2 separate regions of the Homo sapiens genome follow, and region 2 is linked to region 1. The links are contacts of gene promoters, found by promoter capture Hi-C in blood cells and fetal thymus (Javierre and others, 2016). All regions are on one chromosome and are shown on one strand. Each heading gives the region's core, a stretch centred on a gene start or on the middle of the fragment in contact. The rest is flanking DNA. Distances are from core to core; before and after follow the strand shown. Region 1 holds the start of MAT2B (methionine adenosyltransferase 2 non-catalytic beta subunit). Region 2 holds the start of FBXO38 (F-box protein 38).

What was found. Contacts are between HindIII fragments. The CHiCAGO score rates a contact against its expected background, and 5 or more counts as called.
Region 2: the fragment with the promoter of FBXO38 here is called in contact with the fragment with the promoter of MAT2B in region 1 in 1 of 17 cell types (total CD4 T cells); the score reaches 9.1 in total CD4 T cells.

What each region holds. Positions count from the first base shown.
Region 1 is chr5:163,501,411-163,507,988 of GRCh38, reverse strand. MAT2B (methionine adenosyltransferase 2 non-catalytic beta subunit) reads right to left here and starts at 2,370. Exons shown (of 7, transcript NM_013283.5): 1 at 2,240-2,370. The coding sequence starts at 2,302. RefSeq lists a silencer at 2,054-2,193 and enhancers at 2,364-2,483, 2,524-2,613, 1,831-2,637, 4,868-4,917, 4,253-5,061. The HindIII fragment of the contact is 7,455 bases long and covers 1,207-6,578 here.
Region 2 is chr5:148,382,300-148,389,344 of GRCh38, reverse strand. FBXO38 (F-box protein 38) reads right to left here and starts at 5,387. Exons shown (of 22, transcript NM_205836.3): 1 at 5,306-5,387. FBXO38-DT (FBXO38 divergent transcript) reads left to right here and starts at 5,495. Exons shown (of 5, transcript NR_105057.1): 1 at 5,495-5,846. RefSeq lists an enhancer at 5,411-5,610. The HindIII fragment of the contact is 17,680 bases long and covers 1-7,045 here.

The DNA of each region.
Region 1 (6,578 bases), core at 1,121-3,620:
CATTGGTAAATGGGGAAGGCATTTAGACAAAATGACTAAGGCTCTTTCAGCTTTAAAGTTCTATATTTCTAACATTTTCCATATTATCCCTACCACGAGGAGTCCGAATAGTTTCGTTTACTTAAATAAGGTAACTTTTCCTCTGAATATGCATTACTCCGAAATTTAAAATATGCCAAACAAATATCTCTGTTTTTGAGCTTCTATATAAGCAATACTCTGCCTTTTACACTGTTTTGTTGAGGCTTTTTGGTTCGTTCTTTAGAAAAAGAAATATCCCTCTAAAAACTACTTTGGACCTGCACTCCATAAATTATTTTAGTTGTGCACAAGGAAGAAATGTCTAAACACTTTAAGAAAGTCAGAATGAAAGAATAAAATGCTATCTAGTTCACTCAAGGCACAATAAAGAGTTGATAATACTTTGCCTGAAGTCTACTTTTTCTCAATTTTTATTATATGGGGGAAAGTAGATCTAATATCAGTTTAAGTTACTCTAAACGTATCTGCCTCTTATTGTCTAAACTCTGAAGTACGGAATTCAATCACTCCAAGGGACCAGATTTATGGACACCAAAAAAACATTTCTTGAAAAATTAAGTACATATAAATAAATATTCTTATTATCGTATCTAATCGAATGATACCAAATTGTATAGGTAATGGGAGATACATGGCTCCTTCCAAATGGTCCAACACAGTACTCTGGGACAGTGATTTCTACTTTAGCACACCTGCATTAATGTCTACTAAAAATGTTCTAGAAAAGTAAAGAATGGAATACTATTAGTATGTGGTTTTCCCAAATTTCAGTGGTAAATACCTTGTCGTTTTTGGAAACTTTAAAACTTGGCACAGTTCCATGTTTAATTTTTTAATTCCCCAGAAACAGACCCTTAAGGTAAACATTACTGGGCTTTACTTTTTAAGATTCTCTGACTACTTAGGTGGGATTGGTCTAACTTCTACTGCGACGCTACTGTGCTCCACAGACAGTATTACTAACAACAACCACTCCAGGATGCTTCTCTAACGTTAACTATGAGACAGTTCTCGTTCTCATGAGTCAGTAAGCTTTAATTCTACAGGTTTTGAGAGCAGTAAGTCTGTGCCAAGCTCTTCGTTGTTTCATTTTTAATGAAGGAAAACACGAAAAGCTATTTTCATTTTTATACTGAACTTCTTTTTGTGAAAGTAGATTAAGCTTTATATGCACACGTACACATACAAATGCATACATATAAATGTAAACGTATGTAACATGCACTCAGCACGGTCTGGAGGACCTAGGAACATAGAGGTTTAATAGACCATTTATCCTAACTTTACCCTCAAAGAACCAAAGTGATTTGAAAACCCTAAGTAAATTTGGAAGCATGAAAACTTTGCAATAACAGAAACAGCCATCTCCTATATTCTCTACTCTCTCCAAAAGACATGGTCTGGGCATTAGTAGTGTTCTTATCCCCAGGGTTGGATATGTTCTGTGGACAGATTAATGCTGGAGGCCCTTAAGTGGAATGGAGCAGGATGGGACGGGGGCGAGGGGGGCACCAGAGATGGATCTTCCAATCATCACCATAATCTTCCTTCAGGGAAACTCCGTAGTGGTTCAAAGCCCAAGACAGTCACACAAACCTGTATCTGAATTCCAGGCTCCAACCTTACGGAATGAACCTGGGCCAATGTCTCACCCTCTATGCCCGTTTTCTCGTCTACAAAATGAGGCAATAACAAGTATCTCACAGTGGAGGATTAAAGTAATGCCCGTCAAGTGCATAACATAGTGCTGAGAACTTAAGAGTTCAATAAGTTGTCATCTCCAGCACTGTTATTTGTGAGAAGTCACCTTTTCCTGTTCTTTCTCAAACCTACGAACTTGTAAGATCGAGAAATACGAACCAAAGATGAATAAACGGGGAAAACCAAAATCAAAACAAACAATTCTGAAAAACCTCTTCGTCCTCAGGAGCAGAGACAGAACTCGAAAGTAAAACCTCCACCTACTTGCTTCCTGCCGCAGTGGCTGGAAGAAAAAAACACTGACCCGTGTGCGCTGAGATAAACAAACTCGGTGGCGCCCCCCTCGGATCCGGGGCTGGGAGGGTGGCGGTGAGACCACTCCCGGCCGGAGGCTCTGACCCGGGCGGAATACGCCTGCAAAGCCGCCCGAGCCCCGGTGGCTCGTCCCCCTCGGCGCCCCCGCTCCCACCGGAGACGCCCAGGCCGACTCCCTCACCTCCACCAGCCGACAGCTCCCGGGAACAAAGTGTATAGAGAGCTCTTTCTCCCGCCCCACCATGCCCGCCGTCTTCACGCCGCAGCCTCAGCGGCCGCCACCTCCTCCAACCCAGGATCGACGCGGGCCTCAGCTCAGACGCCCTCGGCCCGCCTCCCCTAGGCCCAGAACGACCCCGCTCGCCGCTTCCGGCTTCCGCTGCCATAGCCGCGCCCGTTGATTGGCCACGCTCCGCCGACGCCCCAGAAAGAGGGCGGGTACGCGCGGTCTGCCCCCAGCCCACGCGCCGATGCTTAAAGCGACACACAAAAGAAAGGCCCTGACCTTAGGCAGTGAATTCAGGTTTTGTTTCGGAGATTTTATTTGAGTGCTTTTTATTCTACTTTTTTTCCTTTTTTTCTTGACTCGGGAAAAGATTGAAGTGGATCGCCTTGAGTTTCAAGTTTGCAGACTGCGCAGTGCATGAGGATCGACTGAGCAATATAAAAAGTGGAATAAAAAGCATTTTAAAGTCATGGGGGCGGGGGCGGAGGTGGGTAGAGCATAATGGACACATCTCTAGAGCTCTAGGTGGGGGTTTTGAAAGATTTAGAAAAAGACAAGGAATAAAAATAAAAGGGTTGGCGTCTGAGCCATTTGTCTTCCTGGGATGCTTAAAAAAAGAAAAAACCTGTGTGTGAGATATCAAAAATGTAAAACTATTTTTAACTAATTAAAAATAAAAAGTTGTAGGGGGAAGGAAGATGAACTACTTAGGTACCTCTTCAAAACGCAGATCCTTGGACTTTACCCATAATTACAGAACAAGAAACGAGCCCGGGGTCCGACTTCTTAATGGGTTTAACCAGAATCAAGCCCACTCTTTAAGAAACACCGCCTCGGGGATTGCAGGATTGGGCCACACGAGCCCAGCCTTGGTGAGCACCGAGAATTTAAGCAGCAGCGTGTAAGGCTGGGCGTTCTACCACCTTTTAAAAGTTAAGCAGCCCTAAGTGCTGATGCCGACTTATTTCCCTTCCAGTTAAAAACCGCAAAAAATCCTCAGCCAGGCTGGACGCCTGTGAAATTGATGCAGAAAGTAAACCCTGGCACAGGCCGTGTAGGATTTGCCAACTTTGCACCGAACAGTCCAAGGGTTCTTGTGTGCCCAGGATAGCAAGCTCTAAACGTCGTCCACAAACGTGACCACTGTCTGGATTTTCCTAGGGCCTTTCCCCGACTCCTAAACCTTTTTGGTTTATTTTCAAACTAAAGACTAAGCAGCCTTTTAAAGAAGTTTTCCACGTCAGAACACCATGACTTTCCTTCCTCCTCAACCCCCAACAAAAACTCATTTCCTTATTCGTGTAAACATAAAGTTTCTCTAGAACAGTAATCGAAGACAGCCTGAGGTTTCTTATGTTCCGATTTTTTTTTTTTTTAAACACAGGCTATTACTGTTCATTAGTTTGGCTTTATTTAGGGAATCCTTGAGGACTGCCCCAGCGCTAAACAAGCATAATCAGGGGACAACAAAGAAGAGGGCGGGAAGAGGGCCGGGGGAGCAGCCAAGATCATCTTACTACTTTTTCTCTTAACTGGGAATTCGGTTTAAAGTTTCTAGTCGCAACACGTGATGTAATCTTACCTTTCTATGGGAGAAAAGAAAATTAATTCTTCATTCTTCAACGTGAAGCAGGTTTAAGGGCAAGCATATGCAATTAGCATTCTGATTCTCAGAGCAGCCTAGTCTTGAGGAACAGAAAGAATTTAACTTGGCTGCTTTTGAAAATCTGACTTGATACTTTCCCCGTAAAAGTTGGGTACAGTTCTAGGGGCATATGTTTGGATATGGTTTTTAATCATTTTCTTTAATGATGGTAGGGTCTATGCGAATCAAACGCCATTCTTAACATAGACAATATACAACTTCGTGTGGTGGCTAAGTCTATACATTTAAAGAGAGCAGCCTGAAACTAAAAGTTATGTTAGCAGATTCAATTCATACAAAGACAAAGAACATCTGGAAAGGAACACACTACAGATAAAATCCTTATTTATGTAGAAACTTTATATACATAATTGCATTTAAAATGGTAAATGAAAGTGCAATTCTGTATTGTCAGCTAGTGAGACTTAGCTGAGCCCTTCATAACCTGGTTCTCCGGGTCAGTAACTAAAGTTGGCTTATTCTTCCATGTCCCGAGGTTATGTTTTAAGGAAATGAATGACACCCGTTTCTATTTTCTTTACACAACAATTCTGGTTTTAGCAGGCGTTCACTGGAATGCTTTTAAAGCATCTCTTACTCTAGAATGCTTCATTTCTTGAATTGCTAGTTCTTACCTGCTCCATGTCCTCTGGCATTTCAGGCATGACTCCAGAATTATTTCAGGAGAGCAGATACGGGATGGGTCTTAGCCTCTGCCTTCTCTTGCTGGGTCTTTGTTCGCTTCTGCCTGCAGAGAGCGCAGGCACGCCAAAACGTGAGGAGCAGCTTCACTTGACCTTTTAAATTAGCATTTTGATTCCAATCCCGGAATCTCGTGCAGTTCTCCACATGGCAGTAAGCTGGTAGCTGATTCCCCGTAGTAGTCTCGAAAATACCCAATGAGAAGTTTCATGTTTAATTGCCAGTCAAGCCTGGGTCTATTTGCAAAACTATTTGGTAGAACTAACTACTTAACAAAAACAAAAACAAAAACCCAACAACTTCCTGTCAAGATTCCTTGTAGTTTTCTTTTGCAAAAGAAGAGTGAGCCACACTTTTGGAAAGCACACAGATCATGCAGTTGATTCCTGTTCTAAAAGGCACAGTTTTCTATCATTTTATTTAGTTACACCTTATTGCAACAGATTATGTTTAGTAAAATTCTCCAGTGCTTTCCCTTCCCAGTGCTTTTAATTATTTCAAAGGAGAGTAAAAGGCAGTGGTGGTAACAGCACGCAAGAAGTAAAATGCAACGGGTCATTTCCATTAATACTATGCTGCCCTCTGAGAAAATGGTAGATGGAGTGAGCGGCCTTAAGTTTCACAAAGCATTAAGGACTTCTAGATAAGTGATTTCCAAACCTGCCTGCACCACAGAACCTAAGAAACGAAATCATTCTCTGGGAGCGAAGCCCAGTAATCTGTTTTCGAAGACTTTCAAGGGTCATGAACGTGCTCAGTGAGCTTTGCACCGCTATTCTGAATTATGGCTCTGTACCAATTTAAGAACATCAAAAATTGCCATTCAAATTGAACTAAAAAAATCATCTGACTTTTAATGTTACATTCATTTAGAGCACACAGCGCATGGTAAACTCTAAGAGGCATTCAGAGAAATCTATTAATATAAATTATGAGGAATTGTTGTGTGTGTGTTTGCATTTGTGAACAAATGTGAACCTGAAAAAGCCAGTCCTTCAAGATGGATCCCAAGTGGCTAACTGGGCATAATTTATTTATTTTTATTATTTCAAGACAGGGTCTCCCTCTGTCACCCACGTTGGAGAGCAGTGGTGCCATCACAGCTCACTGCAGCCTCGAACTCCTGGGCCCCACGTAATTCTACAGCCTCAGCCTCCCAAGCAGCTCCACAGATAAGGAGTGAATATTCGCCTTGGCCATTCCCGGATTCCTTAGCTCCAAGCACACATTCTTCTTAGACCACAGGGTATTCTCAGGGTATGCTTAAAGTTATTGCTGTCAGGTGCATCTGCCATACAACGCTATTTATTTATTATTATTATTATTATTTTTTTTTTTTTTTCTTTTTTGAGACGGAGTCTCGCTCTGTTGCCCAGGCCGGACTGCGGACTGCAGTGGCGCAATCTCGGCTCACTGCAAGCTCCGCTTCCCGGGTTCACGCCATTCTCCTGCCTCAGCTTCCCGAGTAGCTGGGACTACAGGCGCCCGCCGCCGCGCCCGGCTAATTTTTTGTATTTTTAGTAGAGACGGGGTTTCACCTTGTTAGCCAGGATGGTCTCGATCTCCTGACCTCATGATCCACCCGCCTCGGCCTCCCAAAGTGCTGGGATTACAGGCGTGAGCCACCGCGCCCGGCCCTTATTTATTATTTTTAAGACGGACTCTCGCTCTGCTGCCCAGGCTGGAATGTAGTGACATGATCTCGGCTCACTGCAACCTCCGCCTCCCGGGTTCAAGCAATTCTCCTTCCTCAGCCTCCTGAGTAGCTAGGATTACAGGTGTATGCCACCACACCCGGCTAATTTTTGTATTTTTAGTATAGACGGTGTTTCACCATGTTGGTCAGGCTGGTCTCGAACTCCTGACCTCAAGTGATCCGCCTGCCTCAGCCTACCAAGGTGCTGGGATTACAGGCATGAGCCACAGCGCCCAGTTCAGACAACACTT
Region 2 (7,045 bases), core at 4,138-6,637, about 15 Mb after region 1:
GTCAGGCAAGTTTATTGGTGCCCTTTTTCCAGCAGCACATGCTCACTTCATGTCTGTGTGTCACATTTTGGTAATTCTCACAATATTTCATATCCTTTCATTATTATTATATGTGTTACGGTGATCTATGATCAGTGATTTTTGATGTTACTACTTTAATTGTTTTGGAGGTACCACAAACCATGCTGTATAAGATGGCAAACTTGATTGATAAATATGGTGTCGTTCTAACTGCTCCACTGGCTAGCTGTTCTTCCTATCTCTGTCCCTCTCCTTAGGCCTCCCTATTTCCTGAGACACAATGATATTTAAATTAGACCAATTAAGAACTCTACAACGGCCTCTAAGTGTTCAAGTGAAAGGAAGAGTTGAGCATCTCTCACTTTAAATCAAAACCAAGAAATGACTAACCTTAGTGAGGAAGTCATGTTGAAAGCCAAGACAGACCAGAAGCTAGGCTTCTTGTGCCAAACATTAGCTAAGTTGTGAACACAAATAAAAAGTTCTTGAGAAAATTGTTACTCCAGTGAATAAACAAATGATAAGAAAGCAAGACAGCCTATTGCTGATATACACAAAGTCTGAGTTTTATGGACAGAAGTTCAAACCAGCCACATTCCCTAAGCCAAAGACTAATCCAGAGCAAGGCCCTAAGTCTCTGCAATTCTATGAAGGCCGAGAGAGGTGAGGAAGTTTTAGAAGAAAAGTTGAAAGCTAGCAGAGGGTGGTTCATGAGTTTATGGAAAGACGTTGTCTCCATAGCGGAAAAGCACAAGGTGAAGCAGCAAATGTTGATGGAGAAGCTGCAACAAGTTATCCAAAAGATCTAACTTAGATAACGGCTGAAAGTAGCTACACTACACAACAGATTTTCAGTACGTACAGCCTTCCATTGGAATAATATTCCATATCAGATTTTCACTGCTAGGGAGAAGTAAATGCCTAGCTTCAAAGGGCAGGCTGATTATCTTGTTAGAGAATGCAGCTGGTGACATGAAGTTGCAGCCAATGCTCACTAACCATTCTGAAAATCCTAGGGCCCTTCAGAATGATGCTAAATCTACTCTGCCTGTGCTCTATAAAAGGAACAACAAAGCCTGAAAGACAGCACATCTGTTTACAGTATAGTATACTAAATAAGACTTCTACTAAGATCTACTGCTCAGAAAAGTTTCCTTTTAAAATATTACTGTTCATTGACAATGGACCTAGTCATTCAAGAGGTCCATTAGATACACAAGGAGATTAATATTGTTTCCATGCCTGCTAACACAATATCCATTCTGCAGCTAATAGATCAACTAGATCAAGAACTTTCAACTTTCAAGTCATATTATTTAAGAAACAAATTTCCTGGCTGGACCCGGTGGCTCACACCTGTAATCCCAGCACTTTGGGAGGCCGAGGCAGGCAGATCACAAGGTCAGGAGCTCGAGACCAGTCTGGCCAACATAGTGAAACCCCATCTCTACTGAAAATACAAAAATTAGCTGGGTGTGGTGGCATGTGCCTGTAATCCCAGCCACCTGGGAGGCTGAGGCAGGAGAATTGCTTGAACCAGGGTGTCAGAGGTTGCAGTGAGCCAAGATCGTACGACTGCACTCGAGCCTGGTAACAGAGCTAGACTCCATCTCAAAAAAAAAAAAAAAAAAAAGAAATAAATTCCCTAAGGCTATAGCTGCCATAGACTGTGATTCCTCTGATGGATATGGGCAAACTAAATTCAAAACCTTCTGGAAAGGATACACATTCTAGAAGCTGTTAAGAACGTCTGTGATTCATGGGAGGAGGTCAAAATATCAACATTAACAAGAGTTTGGAATCCAGTCCTCATGGATGACTCTGAGGGATTCAAGACTTCTGTGGTTATAGGAGGAGCAGGATTGAAATAATAAACAACAAAAGACATCAGTGGAGGAAGTCGCTGCAGATGTGGAGGAAATAGCAAGAGAACTACAATCGGATGTAGAGCCTGAAGATGTGACTGAATTGCTGCAATCTCATGATAAAACTTGAACAGATGAGAAGTTGCTTCTTATAGATGAACAAAGAAAGTGGTTTGTTGAGATGAAATCTACTTCTGGTGAAGATGCTGTGAACATTATTGAAATGACAACAAAGGATTTAGAATACTACATAAACTCAGTTGATACGGCAGCACCAGGGTTTGAGAGAACTGAATGTAATTTTGAAAGAAGTTCTACTGTGAGTAAAATGCTATCATACATCGCATGTTACAACAAAATATTTCCTAGAAGGAAGAGCCAATCAATGAGGCAAACTTCACTGTTGTCCTAAGAAACTGCCAAGCCACCCCAATGTTCTGCAACCACCACCCTGATCAGTCAGCAGCCACCAAGACAGAGACAAGATCTTCCATTAACAAAAATATTATGACTCGCTGAAGGCTCAGATTAATTGTTAGCATTTTTTTTAAATTAAGTACTTTAAAATTATGGCGTATACATTACTTTAGATATAATGCTGTTGCACACTTGATAGATTATACTACATTGTAAAATATAACTTCTATATACACAGGGAAACCAAAAACTTTGTGACTTGCTTTATTGCAGTAGTCTGGAACCAAACCTGCAGTATCTCTGAGCTATGCCTGAATAAATAAGGAGGAGAGTATTATATATAAAGACTATACTTTGCGGTACCAGGTGTTACCTATAGGCTTAGCAACTTCTAGACCCTAAGACTCTGAACCTTAAGGAAATGTCAGAAATGACAGAATTACAGAATCCCAGAATGTTAAAAGTTGAAGAGGACCAGAGACACTACCTAATCACACAGTTCTCAATTTTTTGTGGGTCACAAACCCATCTGAGAATACGATGAAAGTGGCACATCCGTTTTCCAGACTCATGCAAGCAGAAATACATACACGATTTCAGGGGGTTCATATTCACAGACATCGAAGCTCATCTAGTGATCCCAAATTTTTAAGATGAACAAACAGAACCAGAGAGGATAAGGTGACAAATCACTTGCCCAAGATTAAATAGTGTCAAGGTTCAGGCTGGGATACAGACTTCCCAGGTTACAGTAAACATTCTATCATCAAGTCAGTCCTCTGTCACTGTGGTTGTCTTCCTGCATTCCAGAGCAATGCCCTAGTGCTTGGAGAAAGGCTTCTAGATGCTCTGATAGAACTGCATCTGACCACACCCTACCTTCACCAATTAGGATTTATGGTCCATTTAATTTAGGCTCCCATGCAGTGGTCTATGGCCACCTTTGGTATATTACAGTCACTCTGTGGCTGCCTGCTTAGCTGACCTTAGCCACAGGAAGCATTACTTTTGTCTTGGTGTTGCAAGCACATTCTTAAACCAGAGTTGTTTCCAAAAAGTGTTCTCCTATCTCGTCAATTCAAATCTCCTTCCCATCCCAAACTCAAATTACTTTTCTTTACCCTCGTGAAAAATACCCCCTCTCACTTGAAACTTCCCTATATTCTCAATGATCCTATCTGGTCAAGGGCTTCCCTGCCCTTCAAGTTTCTCATGCCTTTCTTTAGTTTCTATTGGTTTCAGCTTGCTCATATCAAAGTAATCTTGCATATCACTTAATTTGACCTCACAGACCTTAATTGACATCATAGACTATCTTGTGTATCTACTGACCAGGACAGCCTCTCTTGTCTAAAGAAATACCACACCACATAAACCAAACTGCTCAGATAAAAACCACACACAAACAAAACAAAACAAAAACCCCCCAACAGGATGATGGTGCTGAAAAAGGCCTAGGAATCATCCAGCTCAACCCTTCGTTTTACAGATAAGGAAAGTGAGGCCTAGAGATGTTAGATGGCTTGTCCAAAGTCACAGAGGCAGGATGTACCAGTGTGAAGCAGGGATACAGGTCTTCAACTCCTTTTTAATTTTATTTCACTATACCACCTTATTTCATTTTAGTATACCACCAATTTTACTTCACTATATCACCCTATCTTACTGGAATCTAGTTGTCCCTTTTTCTCCTCTGCTATGCATTAGTATCTGTTTGACTAAATATAAAGTGTGTACCTCTGGGCACACAGCCATTTAAACAAAGAGGCACACAAAACTCTACATTCTTTACCCAAGGAGGACATCAGAATTACAGCATCACATATTTTAAAGAGGGGAAAGAAGGCTTACAGATAATCTAAAATGTTAATTCTCAAAATGAAAGTTAAAAATTACAAGCGGATTTTTTTCAGTCTATGCCTATGTAATACATACCCTCCAGACTGGACCTCCTCCTTCCCTGGGAAAATCATGGCTTTATAGAACTATTATTTTATCCTTCACTTGTGCTGGGGGAATGGGAAAGGGGATTAAAAACCAGTGACCTAATCCAACGTCTTCCTTTAGCAGATAAAAAAATCTCAAGTTCAGAGAGAGGAAGGGATTTGGCCAAAGTAAACCATCAAGTTAATAGCAACTTTGGAACAAAAATCAAGGTCTCCTGTTTTTCACTTTGTAGTGATTTACACTGCTGGTTTAGGTGTATAAAACAAAGTTTTCTGGACAGAGCTTCTCATTGCACAGGAACCTTCCTAAGTGACCAGTTGCCCTTGGCCAGCTTGGTGTCTGCAAAGAAACACGGTAGACATCTCTTAGTCAAATTCTGGGTGTGCAGAGTGCAGGGAGAATATGCTTTTCAGGTCTGTAAAGACTCCATGAAAAGGGAGTTAAGAATCTGATTTCCACAGCTAGGGCACGGACATCAAAGGCATCCAACACAGATAAGCAAACTGCAGCACAGAAAAGCTAATGGACCTAGACAAGGTCACACGGTGTGTAGGTGGAAGGGGTGAAACTAGAATTCAGGGCTCCTGATACTCAGGCGTGGCAGCCAAAGATGTGTTCACTGCTTCCTGCTCAGGGACATCTCCTCACTACGCTGAACACAGACCTCCTTCACTTTACTGGCCGAAACACCGACTTAACATTAAAATCATGAAATTCGTGACGCCCGGGGTGGGAGACAGTCACAGAAGCTGTCCAGTCCAACACCCTCACCCATTTCATTGAGGAAACTGGGGCCCAGAGAGAGTTCTTTATGCTGGATTTTGGGGCCAGGTTCAGACAAGCAGGCAACCCCCGCAAGCACGGCCTAGAAGGCCAGGAACTACAAATTCAACCCCTGATCTCTCAAGGAGCTCTAGGCCCCAAGGGGGCCAGAGGCCGAGCTTAAGCGGTCGGAAGTTCCAGAATCCCCACCCAGCTACCTCAGCCCTGCCGCACGCACTCCGGGCTTTGCCACCCCGCTCCCGGTCCCCAGGCCCACTCAGCCGCCGCCTCACCTACGCCGACCCTCCGCCTGTTATTGTGGTTGAGAGGGAGGGACGCTACAGACACTTCCCCGGCCCCTACCGCTGAGGCACTTCCGCTTCCGCCGCCGCTCGCATATTTCCGGAGTGTTGTCATCCGGGGCTGGAGCCTCAAACCCGTGTCCATATTGTGTGTGTGAAGAAGCATCGAAGCGCGGCAGCCATGTTCAGCGTGGCATTTCGGAAGGCTTGTCAGGGGTGGAGAAGCGGGGCGGGTTGCTGTTCTTTCACCTGACACTAAAGCGCCATGCCGGAAGCACTGAGTCTGATACGTCGGAACCAGTCTCCACCGTGTGGTTTGGTCTTGATTTCCACTGGTACTCTGGGGTCTTGGATAAGTCTCTGGACCTCGCCTTTGTCATTTGCGAAGTCGATAGGTTCCAATAGAGATTTTCCCAGAATCATTCAACTAAAAATAGAGAACTTTTTTTTTTTGAGAGGAAGGACGGGGGCGCAGTTAAAGATGTTAATGTTAAGTCATCCCTTCTGTGATTTCGGGACATTATCTTTGCACGTAAGTAATAGTATTTTACAGTCCAAAGGAATTTCACATGAGTGTCATTAAAAACTCTACACGACTCTGACATGTAGGCAAGGATCAACTTAATCACCTTTTCTGTTGTTTAATGGATAAGGAATTGTCTTCAGAGAGTGTAATTGATTTTCACAATGTCTCGCAGATGGACTGAAATTCAGATTTTTACCTTTTACATCCTGTGTTCTTGCCCTAATATACATGTAATTAATATGGGCTAAAATCCCTAGATTTAAATAGATACAAATACTTCTTAGGAAAGTTAGTGTGCATTAAAGCCATGTGAGACACAATTTGACAAGACGTAGCATTGACTAGGCTATTCTGCTGGAGAAGAAAAAGCTGAAGAAGGCTTGGGAATCCCATTTCTTCTTATTCTTTTCTTGATTGATAGCAGACCTACTGGTTTTTCCCCTCTTTCCCCAATATGGTTCGGCACCTTAGGTTTCAGCTTGTCTTAGGCAGTCACAGTTTTAGCTATCCCATTCCGTATGTCAAACCATATATCTGTGTTTTTATTTGGAGCTCTGGTAGGACAAACAAAACAAAACCTCATCATATTCATGTACTATTCATTGTAATCTCAGCTTTCATGTTACATTCTTCCTGTAATTGAAGACAAAAATGAATTTTTATGCTATTTGCTTCTGTCGGTTTCTTCATATTCAAACTTTAATAAAGGAAACAGACTTTAGCTTTTTCTGTTTCCCAGGTTATTCTGAAGAATAAATAGGAATTACGAAAGTTTCTAGTGCAGGGCATGGCATATTTAGAAGGCATTCAGTAAGATTTATTTCAGCACAATTGGCCTGAATTTTTAATTCAATGGAATATGATTTTCATTTTATTAGCATTCCTCCTTTTGTAAAAAGCACTGTAGTGGGACCTGAAATGAATACTCATGAGTAAGAAAGGTTTCCTACCTCAAGTTTAGAAAATTTCCTACCACAAATCATTGTAATAAATGTTAAAGATATTTTCTCACTGCTATGAGTGTTATATATAATAAGATATCAAAACTAGTTTTAACATTTTCAGGTAGAGCATGTTATATGTATCCCTTCATCTCTAGGATTTATTTGTACCTTGATGTTACAGGTTTTCATTAAAAAGGTCCTGAGTTAGTATTTCTCCTGTACAGTGGCACCATCATGGGGTCCCTGAGCGCTGCAGGAAAG